Linked DNA regions of Homo sapiens: all the other regions are linked to region 1. The links are contacts of gene promoters, found by promoter capture Hi-C in blood cells and fetal thymus (Javierre and others, 2016). All regions are on one chromosome and are shown on one strand. The core of a region is centred on a gene start or on the middle of the fragment in contact, and the rest is flanking DNA. Distances in the headings are between cores, read along the strand shown.

Evidence for each region. The method cuts DNA at HindIII sites, captures the fragments that hold promoters and counts their contacts. A CHiCAGO score of 5 or more calls a contact.
Region 2: a fragment that was not itself captured here is called in contact with the fragment with the promoter of AARS2 in region 1 in 3 of 17 cell types (total B cells, naive B cells and erythroblasts); the score reaches 7.0 in total B cells.
Region 3: a contact is called between a fragment that was not itself captured here and the fragment with the promoter of AARS2 in region 1, in 1 of 17 cell types (total B cells). The highest score is 5.2, in total B cells.

What each region holds. Positions count from the first base shown.
Region 1 is chr6:44,311,556-44,315,346 of GRCh38, forward strand. It overlaps AARS2 (alanyl-tRNA synthetase 2, mitochondrial), which reads right to left and starts at 1,792. Exons shown (of 22, transcript NM_020745.4): 1 at 1,526-1,792; 2 at 517-708. The coding sequence starts at 1,768. It overlaps LOC124901322 (a long non-coding RNA gene), which reads left to right. Exons shown (of 3, transcript XR_007059594.1): 3 at 2,596-2,992. RefSeq lists an enhancer at 1,537-2,096. The HindIII fragment of the contact is 8,838 bases long and covers 158-3,791 here.
Region 2 is chr6:44,114,405-44,118,195 of GRCh38, forward strand. It overlaps MRPL14 (mitochondrial ribosomal protein L14), which reads right to left. Exons shown (of 3, transcript NM_032111.4): 2 at 2,137-2,225. The coding sequence starts at 2,207. Among named protein-coding and RNA genes, the nearest start is that of MRPL14, 11 kb to the right of the region's middle. RefSeq lists an enhancer at 2,802-2,971. The HindIII fragment of the contact is 188 bases long and covers 1,903-2,090 here.
Region 3 is chr6:44,130,420-44,134,210 of GRCh38, forward strand. All of the region lies in intron 1 of TMEM63B (transmembrane protein 63B), which reads left to right. Among named protein-coding and RNA genes, the nearest start is that of TMEM63B, 4.8 kb to the left of the region's middle. RefSeq lists a silencer at 742-901 and enhancers at 2,746-3,711, 3,134-3,303, 3,712-3,791. The HindIII fragment of the contact is 482 bases long and covers 1,935-2,416 here.

The DNA.
Region 1 (3,791 bases), core at 542-3,041:
GGGTGGGGGGGGAAGACGGGTGAGAGGGAGACCCCACTGAAGTAATCAAGCCACATGAGTTTAGCTCCCGACTTAAGACAAAAGCATTTCTGCTGCCATCTTGTTCCCAGAATAAGCCATGAACCATTACTGCCTCTGAGTGTTTTCCTGCCCAGAAAGCTTCCCCCTTCTTCTAAGTCCTATCTTCTTTCAAGTCCCAGACCAAGTCCCACTTTCACATGAAATTCTCTGCCTACTCTAGCCTAGAGTGATCTTTAACTCCAGTAAGCACCTTAGCATTGCTGTTTGACCATTTATTCAAACAACAATTTTTGAGTGATCATTAGGCAGAAAGTACAGTCTCTGCCCTTCAGGGACTTACAATCCAATCAGGGAGGTGAGGTAATTCCTGTTACACCGGCTCAACTAGCACTTTGCCTCCACATCTGGTATGAGGCCCTGCCTAAGCAGACAGTACAATGGAAACAGGACAAATTGACTCCCTTCTTGGCTGATCACTGATCCCCAGAGACTCACCTTAAAATATTCACCCCCAAAGGCCCAATTGCCAAGCATTTCAAAGAAGGTATGATGGGAAAGGTCTCGACCCACATCTTCCAGGTCGTTATGGTGTCCTCCAGCTCTCACACATTTCTGGCTGTTGGCCACACGTCGGAAGCCTGCCATCTCGCTTCGTGGATCCACGGTGCCCAGAAAGATTGGCTTGAACTGGAAGCACATAGAGTGGGGAGGGGGAGAGGGATATCCAATTTCTCAGTAGAAGGGAAATGTGGGGAGTGAGGATAGGGATGGCTGTTCAGACCGAAGGCTGACTGTGCCCCTGAGAGTGCAGTGTAATCTTGGTCTATGAGGACAAACTGGGAGCCTCGGGACAGCCATCTCTGGTGTGTGGGGAGCAGAGAAGAGGTAAACAAATCATGAACCGGAGACCCTCTGCCTAGTAAAATAGGCAAGGTAAAAGAAGGAGGAATGTGTTGGGAGCTGGAAATGGGACGCTGAAAGGTGGCATCCTCCGTCTCAGCTTCTTCAACCACACCCAATAACTTCAGGGAACAAAACTGAGACTCATTTAGTAGGGAGCCCAGACGGCCTCTAAGGTTAACTTATGCCGCCCCTATTTTACAGATGAGGACAATGAAGTCTAGAAAAGATGAGTGGTTGATAAAAACCAAAACCTTAGAGAATAGTACTCAGCAAACAATAGGTGATCAATAAACATTTAATGAAAGCGTTATCTTTATTTAAATAACGAATAAATGAAATCAGACTTCTCCCTCGGGATTCCACTCCAGCCATTTCTGGACCTAATACTCAATCCCAATCCAGAAGTTCCCAGCTCAAGCCCTCCCCAAGCCCTCCCTATACTCTGAGCGCCGTACCCCCATCACTTTACCCAACCAAGCACCGCCCTCTTTCCCCAAAAGCTACGAACTCCGCCTCTCGCTTCTTTTGCCCAATCCTGCAGCGTCTTTCTCACCAGAAAACTCACGAACTCCGCTCCCTATCAGTATGGTTCGGCCCTCACCTGGTTCATGCCCGCATTGACAAAAAGCAAACTGGGGTCGCCGCGGGGCCGCACGGAAGCGGAGGGCACCAGCCGGTGGCCATGGCGGTCCCGAAAGAAGTTCAGAAAGGCGGCCCTCACGGCCGAGGCCTTGGCTGCAGGGGGCTCCGATGAGAGCGGCCGATGGCTGAGGCCCCGCCATGCGGGCGACCTTCGAATGGCCCGCCGCAGCCTCCGGGCTGCAGCTGCCACTGACGCTGCCATCGTAGCTCCGGGCAGTGACTTTACGTGGTCAAAGAGTGACGAGGGAAGGAAGCCAGGCGTTTCCTACAGCGGCCCCTGGCGGTAGGAGGACTCAGGGGGCGGCCTCTGCCGCCGGGGTGGAAGCGATCGATTGGGTCGCTGGCAGAGTCTAGCACAGCGCCCGGCACATAGTAGGCTCTTAATTCATTCGGCATTAAGCAAATATTCATTGAGAGCCTACTATGTGCTAGGCATTGTTTTGGGCTTTTAGGGTACAAAATTGACAAAATGCCCTGCCCACTGAAATCCGTATTCTAGCAGTAATTGCTGTTGTGCTTATTAGTTTTGCAAAGTTACAGATGGGGTTGCAATAAACAGGTGTGGATTCAACTTCGTGTGTGTGTGTGTGTGTGTGTGTGTGTGTTTTGTGTGTGTTTTTCCAGGCTGAGGGAAGAAGGCAGAGAGTGACAGGGGAGTATCAGCATTCATTCAAGAGGTATTCAACAAATATTTATTGAAGACCTAGTATGTGCTAGGCACTGTTCTAGGCATTTGCCAGTTTCCTTGGACCTTGGCATCAGACACGGCCATTTTTGCCCGTGAAGCAGGAGTCTATAGGAGAACACAGAAGCCAAACAGCATCTGCTATATTATTAATTGCCTAACATTTGGTCTTCTCATTTGCCTGGGGATCAGAGAGAATCCAGGTCGTCAAGGCAGGAGGAAGCTGTTGGCTAATAGCTGCAGAGATTTCACTCTCTAAGCCTTCTAATGCCCTAAGGTTTTGTGTGTTTTCGTTTAGGATAAGAGATATACCTGTTCTACCTCTCCCTTCTGTCTTTCCATAGTAACAGCTGTGACCCTGAAGCCAACAGGCCCTTGTGGATGCAATCAGGGTGCTCATGGGGCTTCTCATGATGCCCTTGGCTTGGGAAATTAAACAGATTGGGAAGACAGAAGAGAATCTGCCAAAGCTAAAACTCAATAGAGGTTCCAGAGCTGAGGTCAGTGTAATAACCGAGAAGGCCTTAGCCATCAGGGTGGTCTCTTTTAGCCACGATTCTGTGTGTGTTAAGTTATTTGGGGTCTTTGTATACATAGTTTCTCTGCGGAATCTACATTGGACTTGAATTTCTATAGTGATAGTAAATTCTTAACTTTGTGTTCTGACAGCACCTATAACTCCTATTCCATGATCCCCTTTTTCTCCCTTTGCCCACATAGATTAAAGGTGTTGTTTTGAAAGTGTGTTTGGCCTGTTTTGGTTTTTCCAGTGTTTCTGGAACAGAAAGCTAAAGCCAGCTGGGGATTTCTGTGTGATTAATGACTTTTTTATTTTTTTGAGATGGGGTTTCACTCTTGTTGTGCTGGCGTGCAATAGCACAATCTCGGCTCTCTGCAACCTCTGTCTCCCGGGTTCAAGCAATTATCCTGCCTTAGCCTCCTGAGTAGCTGGGATTACAGGCATGCATCACCACGCCCGGCTAATTTTGTATTTTTAGTAGAGATGGGGTTTCTCCATGTTGGTCAGGCTGGTCTTGAACTCCCGACCTCAGCTGACCTGCCTACCTCAGCCTTCCGAAGTGCTGGGATTACAGGCATGCACCACTGCGCCCAGCTGAGATTGATGATCTTTAGACAAGACTGTGAAATTATTTCCCAAACTGAGATGGGAGTGTTTTGCCATACAAACCTGGCAGGGCCTCTACTCAGTACTGACATCAACTTTTTTTTTTTCAGATTTTGCCCAGAAAGTCATTGTGTTACATTAGAAACTCCAAACATGGATCTAGTGTGGAGCCATATAATTTTTTTAAAACAGCTTTATTGAAATATAATTTACATGCTATACAATTCGCCCATTTAAATAAAGTATACAGTTCAATGCCTTTTAGTATATTTACATAGAGTTGCCCATCCATCACCACAATCACTTTTAGAACATTTTCATTACTTCCAAATAAAACCCCAAATCCTTTAGCCATTAACCCCCAATCGTCTCATCCTTCCTAGCCCTTGGCAACCACTAATCTACCTTCTGTCT
Region 2 (3,791 bases), core at 747-3,246, 200 kb before region 1:
GAGCTTCTGCTGTTGTGTCAAGGTCTCAATTTGGATGGGTTTTAAAGAGAACCCAATTTTTCTGTGACAATGAACTTCACAGCAGCCATAACTTAAAGCCTTTGCTTTCCAAAAGGACTCTAAGGACTTAAAGGAATCCCTTATGGGCTAGGCCTCACCCACTGCCTATCCTGAAAAACCTGCTTCCCCAGAATACACCATTCCCTAATTTTCTTTTTTTTTGAGACGGAGTCTCGCTCTGTCGCCCAGGCTAGAGTGCGGTGGCGCCATCTCAGCTCACTGCAAGCTCCACCTCCCGGGTTCACACCATTCTCCTGCCTCAGCCTCCCAAGTAGCTAGGAATACATGCGCCTGCTGCCATGCCCAGCTAATTTTTTGTATTTTTTAGTAGAGACAGGGTTTCACCGTGTTAGCCAGGATGGTCTCGATCTCCTGACCTCATGATCCGCCCGCCTCGGCCTCCCAAAGGGCTGAGATTACAGGCGTGAGCCACCGCGCCCGGTCCCCTAATTTTCTTATTTACATGTTGCTGGGAACTAGAAGATATGGGTAAGTTTACTAAGGGAATTCTCTGACACAACATACCAGAAACTGGTAATAAGTCAAGGTAACAATCTTCTGTTTTAATACATTTTTTCTCATTAGAAAAAAAAATTTTAGAGAGTACTTATTGAAGGCAGACAAGGTATTATTAAGCAAGCTGATTACAGTGGGATTCCTATTTTCCTGATGCTAGCACCTGATGCTGGTGTTTCCGCAGGGTAATCCTAGGACCTCTTCTCTCGTTTTTTATGCCTACTCTGGGCAATCTTACCCATTAGCATTGCTGCCAACTAGTAAATTCCATCTCCAGCCCCGCCTCTCTTCTATATTCTAGTTCTATATATTTCCACTCTCCTCAACTCCCTACAACATGCTCTATAGATACTGCAAACTCAGTAGGTCCCAAACTCATCTCACTGCCTCCCCTTGCAAACCTCCGCCTGCTGCTACACTTATCTAGACGATGGCTTCTCCAGCAGTACCAGAAGCCAAGCCATAAACCTCTCTCCACCAACATGAACTGGCCACCAAGTCCTGTTAATATCACCCCCTAAGCACCTATGTCCTTTCTCTCCAATCCCGCCAACAACTTCCTTCATTTAGCAGCTCACTCTCCTACACCAAGACTGTGACATTAGTGTCCTAGTTGGTTCCCATTGCACTTCACTTTGCCAACAAAGAGCTCTCTTTAGAATATAAAAGTGATGCTACTCCCCACCATCTACACTGTCAACAACCTTGTCCCAATTTACCTACCTTCTAAGGCTACACATCCTACCACTCTGGGCAGGAGAACCAGGAACCACTTCCCCAAGCACACCCTGCCTCCCAATTCTCCCTGGAGGCCTAGACAGGATCTGCCCCCATCTCCCTTTTGAGAAGACTGCCTCCACTCTTTCTCCTCCTCTTCCTCCACTAGCAGCTCCTATATGACGCCTTCCAAAGCACTGTACAATCCTCTATTATAATATTCTATCACATTTTCTTAGAGTTACTTATTTTCAAGTTTGCTCCTGTGGCTGACAGTGAGAATTCTTTCAGGACAGAAAGCAACTCTCTTTCATCTCTGTATGGCCAACCCCAGGTGCGGTGCTCAGGAAATGCCTGTGGGATGAGGGCATGACGGGGCCAGGAGGCATGTCTGCCAACAAGCGTGCCTCCTGTGCTCTCCTGGCTTAGCATCTACAAGGAGGGGAGGGTGTCACACTTCTATCATGCTCAAGTTCTTGGTAATAAGCATGTATTATTTTTGTAATTAAAAAAATTCCGTTTTTAAAAGGATTTTAATGCTCTAGGGGAATGATAGGGTTGAGAGATGTCAGATTCACTGTAAGAGTCTTGCAAGGACTGAAGAGTAAAAGCTTCCGCCATATGCCATTCCCCATCACACTTCTAACAGCAACATCACCTCTTTACCTATCCCCCATCCTGTGACCAGACCAACCAGGCCAGCTCAGCCTGATCACTTTAGCTTTCCCCAACCCCATGCCCACCTCCCTGAGTTTTTACTCCTGTTCTAGTCACCGTAATACCCAGCCCTGATAGGAAGCTTACACAAAGACACAGTTTTAAGAACTTAATGGGAAAAGTTACCTGAAACAGTGATGGCTCAGCACTCTGCTTACACAGGTGAAGGGGCCCCAGAGCCCAGTAAAGAAAGCCATGGGATCCCAAGATAGATCCTGCAGGAAAAACGAGAGGGGGAAAAATTGGTTTCTAAGTCAGAGCCCTTAAAGCCAGTTTTCTTTGGGGACTTGTGTGGGAGATGGCACTTCCAGCACAAGATCATTAGTCACAAAATATAAATCTTAGTGGTTAAAGGATACACAGATGATTAGACAGAGCTGTAGCTCCGATTTTGCTGATTCACATTCTAACTCTGGGGTTGGAGAGGGAGAATGGCCCACAACAGCTTCTGCTATAAAAAAATACAACAGCACGGAGAATGCCTTCCTTATTATATCACTTCCACAGGCAGGAGGAAAATATGAGCCCTTGGTTATAAACCCAGCCAGGGACTTCTTCTCGAGTCCTCCATAGAGGAAAAACTGCACACTATTGCCCTTTTTGATATTCATATGCCTTCTGAAACCAGCACTTTAACTCCCTAAAAGAAAGTAAATTATCTAAGCAGCCACCCAAGTTGTCTATCACTACATCACCTTTCCCCCAAATGTAAAGGCCAGAACACCTGTACAGCTCAAGGCCAGCAAAGCAAAGCCAAAGGCTGCTCTTGCCAAGTCAAAGACCAAAGTCTTTATTTGGGTCAGTCTCCCAAACACTGTAACATGGAAAACTGACCTACACCATACTACAGCTGAAAGTGGGCTTTGGGAAACCAACTTGAAGAGTTAGCTAAAAGAGCAAACACCAACCCAAGACTTGTGACTCCAGTTTTCAGAATCTCAACCCTGTTGCTCCCTAGCACTAACAAATATGGAGGCTGCCAGTGCCCTGAAACACCTGAACATCACTTCAGAGCATGCTTCAGAAAGGCCTGTAGCCAGCTGCAAAACACACCTGTTTTTCCACCCAAACGTTTGGCAGCAGAGGTGCCCATTCAAGAGGTCTGCCGAGAAAAGCCTCTACACTGTAGTATTTACACACAGCTTTGCTATGCACAAGTTCAAACCACCTCAGATAAGATTTTATTTAATAAGAATGTTAGGGTGGGGCAGGGGAATCCACTCCTCCCCAGGAATACCTAGACACTCCATACTTTTTTTTCTTTCCTTGAGACAAGTCTTGCTCTGTCACCCATGCTGGAATGTAGTGGTGCAACTGCAGCTCACTGCAGTCCCGAACTCCCCAAGCTCAGGTGATCCTCCCACCTCAGCCTCCCAAGTAGTCAGGACCACAGACATGCACCAGGACGCCTGGCTAATTTTTTGTGTTTTTTTTTTTTTTTTTTTTTTTTTTGTAGAGATGATGGTCTCACTATGTTGCCCAGGCTGGCCTTGAACTCCTGAGTTCATGCAATCCTCCCGCCTCAGCCCCGCAAAGTGCTGGGATTATGGGTGTGAGCCACCCACCACACCTGGCCTTTAAATGCTTATTAACTACAATTTAGCCTCAAATCCCAAACTTACTCCCAAATGTTTTCCTTAAGACAACCCATGAAGCATCAGCCAAAATGTAATTATGATCAGAAAAATCAAATGCAAAAGAAGGCAGCTAATGTATGCAACTACTAACATCTGACACACAGAGAATCACAGACTACCAAATGAGACTAGCTTTACTTTTAC
Region 3 (3,791 bases), core at 926-3,425, 180 kb before region 1:
CTTTTTCTGTTTTTCTTTTTTCTTTCCTTTTTTTTTTTAGACACGGTCTCTGTCTGTCGCCCAGGATGGAGTGCAGTGGCATGATCTTGGTTCACTGCAGCCTGGAACTCCCTGGGCTCAGGTGATCTTCGCACCTCAGCTTCCGGAGTAGCTGGGACTACAGACATGCACCAGCATGCCCAGCTAAATTTTGGTGGTGGGGGGTATCTTTTGTAGAGACGGGGTTTTGCTATGTTGCCCAAGCTGGTCTCGAACTCCTGGGCTGACGTGATTCTCCCACCACAGCCTCCCAAAGTGCTGGGATTACAGGTGTGAGCCACCATGCCTGGCTTTTTTTTTTTTTTCCCCTCGAGACAAGGTTTTGCTCTCTTGCCCAGGCTGGAGTGCAGTGGCATGATCATGGCTGACTGCAGCCTCCAACTCCTAGGCTCAAGGTATCTTCCCCACTTGGCCTTCAAAAGTGCTGAGATTACAGGGGTGAGCCACCCCACCCTGCCTACTACTACTTTTTTTTTTGAGATGGAGTCTCACTCTGTCGCCCAGGCTGGAGTGCAGTGGCATGATCTAAGGTCACTGCAACCTCTGCCTCCTGGGTTCAAGTGATTCTCCTGCCTCAGCCTCCCGAGTAGCTGGGACTACAGACGCATGCCACCACACCCAGCTAATTTTTGTATTTTTTTAGTAGAGACGGGGTTTCACTGTGTTGGCCAGGCTGGTCTCGAACTCCTGACCCTGTGATCTGCCCAGCTCGGCCTCCCAAAATGCTGGGATTACAGGTGTGAGCCACCGTGCCTGGCACCTACTACTACTTTTATGCTCACTTGTGGATATATTCTTGCCTTTCTCTCTGAAGTGGGTAGGGGTAGAGTAAGGATATTTGTATCTCTTTGTTACAGATTGGAAGACTGAGACTCAGGTTTCGTAGTAACAGAGCTCGCTTCCATCTTCCCCTCCTCCCCTCAGACCACATGGCCTTGCTTTGATCCAAAGCCCTAACTTAAATCTTGCCCAGTAACTCCACTGAAAAAGCTTATATCACTCCTGTAATCCCAGCACTTTGGGAGGCCGAGGTGGGCAGATCATGAGGTCAAGAGATCGAGACCATCCTGGCCAACATGGTGAAACCCTGTCTCTACTGAAAATACAAAAATTAGCTGGGCGTGGTGGCATGTGTCTGTAGTCCCAGCTACTCAGGAGGCTGAGGCAGGAGAATCCCTTGAACCCAGGAGGCAGAGGTTGCAGTGAGCCAAGATCGCGCCACTGCACTCCACTCTGGTGACAGAGCGAGACTCCGTCTCAAAAAAATACACAACAACCCCCCCAAAAAAAAGCTTATAAGTTATAGCTCTCCAACCCCCACCATGCACACACTCCTTAATGGTAAAATTAAAAAGTTAGCTAGAAGTAAAATGCTCCATCACTCTCTGGACACACCTCAACCAAAACCTCAATATCAGACTAGAGAAACTGGGATATAGCTGGTGCAGGCACCTCGTGGAGTGGAAGAACTGCCACCTCCCATCCCCAAGGTATTCTGCCTCAATGTCTTCCCTCTTCTCAGTTGCTCAGCCCAGTGCTGGCTTTGAGAGCAGCTGCCCTTGATGAAACTCAACCCAGCAACCCCACCCCCACAATTAAAAGCTTGGAGCAGCCCTGTCAACTGGCAGAGCTGCCAGCCCAGGCTCCACCCCTTACCTGTCCTGTCACTGTGCAAGTTGCTTCCCCTACTGGGTTCCTGCTTCCTCCCTGTAAAATGGGGATAGTGATCTGAGTGTGCCCTGCCTTCCTCCCATGCAGGTGGGAAGATTAATGCTGTTGTGGAGGGGAGAGTACTTTGTGACCCCAAGGAGGCGGACAGCAGAGGAGCATGGTGATTTCAGTTACTAACCATCTAGCTAGATCCTGTCCACCCTGCTGGGGCCACTTCATGTAGAAGCTTCCAAAATGCTCTACCTTTCTTTGGTGTGGAGAAGACAGGAGTTGATAGGAATGGTACTCTGGGGCTTGTTCTCATTTCATTCTGATCTGATGGAGCCTTGGAATTCAGAGAGAGAAACAGGCAAGGGGTGGGAATAGAGTGTTGAGATTGCTGGAGTACATTGGAGTTGAGAATTGAGAAAGGGGGACTAGTTAGAGTCCCCCCAACCCAAGATACCTATACCTACCTTTAACCTCCCATAGTGCCCCAGGGTTCTGTGCATCTTATGTTTACATACCCGGGCTCCCAGACACACCCATGTTCACACCCCCACTTCGAAGCCAACAACTCCCTTCATTTCCGTGGACTGCCATGCAGTCACCTAGCTCCTCCTGGACACAGGTCCACACATCAACACACATTTACATACCTGGACACACACATTTCCACAGCACCCACAGGTTCTCTGGCCTGAGAACATTTAATGAGCATTTATAAAGCTTCCATGGTCTGCCGAGTCCTGTTCTAGGAACATCAGAAAAGCACCGTGGTGCCCTGAAAATCATTCTAGCTTTAGAAAGAAGGTGAGCTAGGTTTGAGTCCTAGGTCCCTCATTTTATTAGCAGTGTGACCTTGGGAAAGTTACTTAACCTCTGAGGCCCTGTGCCCCCACCCTAAAATGTCAGTGACACTCAATTCAGGATCGTCGAGGATTAAATGAAATCATGTAATATATTATTCTTGAAACTGAGGGCACTGGACAAATGGTACCCAATACAATTACTAAATTAGTGTGTTTTTAAAGGCAGCTTGGACTGGAAAAGGAAGAGGCATAACACACCAGCACACACTCCTTTAGTCTTCCTAATCCAGGCTTTGCAGAGACTCCCTGGGACCAAGTGAAACACATAAACAACTCCATCCTCCCCTCCATCTGAGGGCTTCTGCCTCTTGCCCTGTGGTTGAAGTGTTAGGAAGAGGCAGGAGAAACCCTCTGAGTCCCCCTGGGGGCTAAGGGATGCTGCTCCCGAAGTTGCAGTCACTGTTTCTAGTTTTGTTGTTCTCTTTGGTTTTCCTTTTTCTTCCCTGAGGACCTCCTCCCCTGCTCCACAGCCCGCCCCCGAGGCAGAGCTTCAGTGTTGTCAGCAGAAGGGTCCCCCAGGGACCCCCCAGTAAAATGGGTGGGGCAGTGCTGCATCTGTTGAGGCCACACTTCTCCGCTATCCTGGGATCCTCCCCAGGGCCCCACTCTGCTCTGTCCCCAAGCACTTTGAGAACCCAGGCACTCAGGCTGGCTGTCCCTTTTCTCCTCCTGCCCACCCCATCCACTCTGAGCATCAATGCAGCCGGCCAGTTGCAGGCAACCAGGCAGCACCCTGGCTGCCCAGGCAGGCTAAGAGGCCCCCACCCACTCCCCCCTCCTTTGCCAGTGGAAAAGCTTGCCGTAGGGCATAGCTTTCCCAGCCTTCCCTGCTTCAGAGGCAGGAGCATGGCACTCTGGGAGTTGTAGTGCTCATAACACTCAGGCGATCCCTGTGCAAATAACTGGAGAGAGGACTATGGTATGGGGAAGAGAAATGAGAATAAGCAGGAGTGGCTGGGGCCAGGCAGGTAACTCAAACCCAGAAGTCCTACTATTTACTTGACTTCCTACTCTGACCCATCGTCGAACCTAAGCCAGTTATATTGAGTTCAAAACTCTAACCAAATGAAATCATGCCATTTTTTCTAATAGGCATAGAAAGAAAAGATCAGGATGAGGCAGCTGGCTCCTGACCCATTCTCCCCTGACGTGGAGACCCCTCATCTTACCCTTGAGTCCTCAGGCCTAAGACCCCTCCCTGTCTTCCCAGGCTCAGCTCCGCCCCCTGCC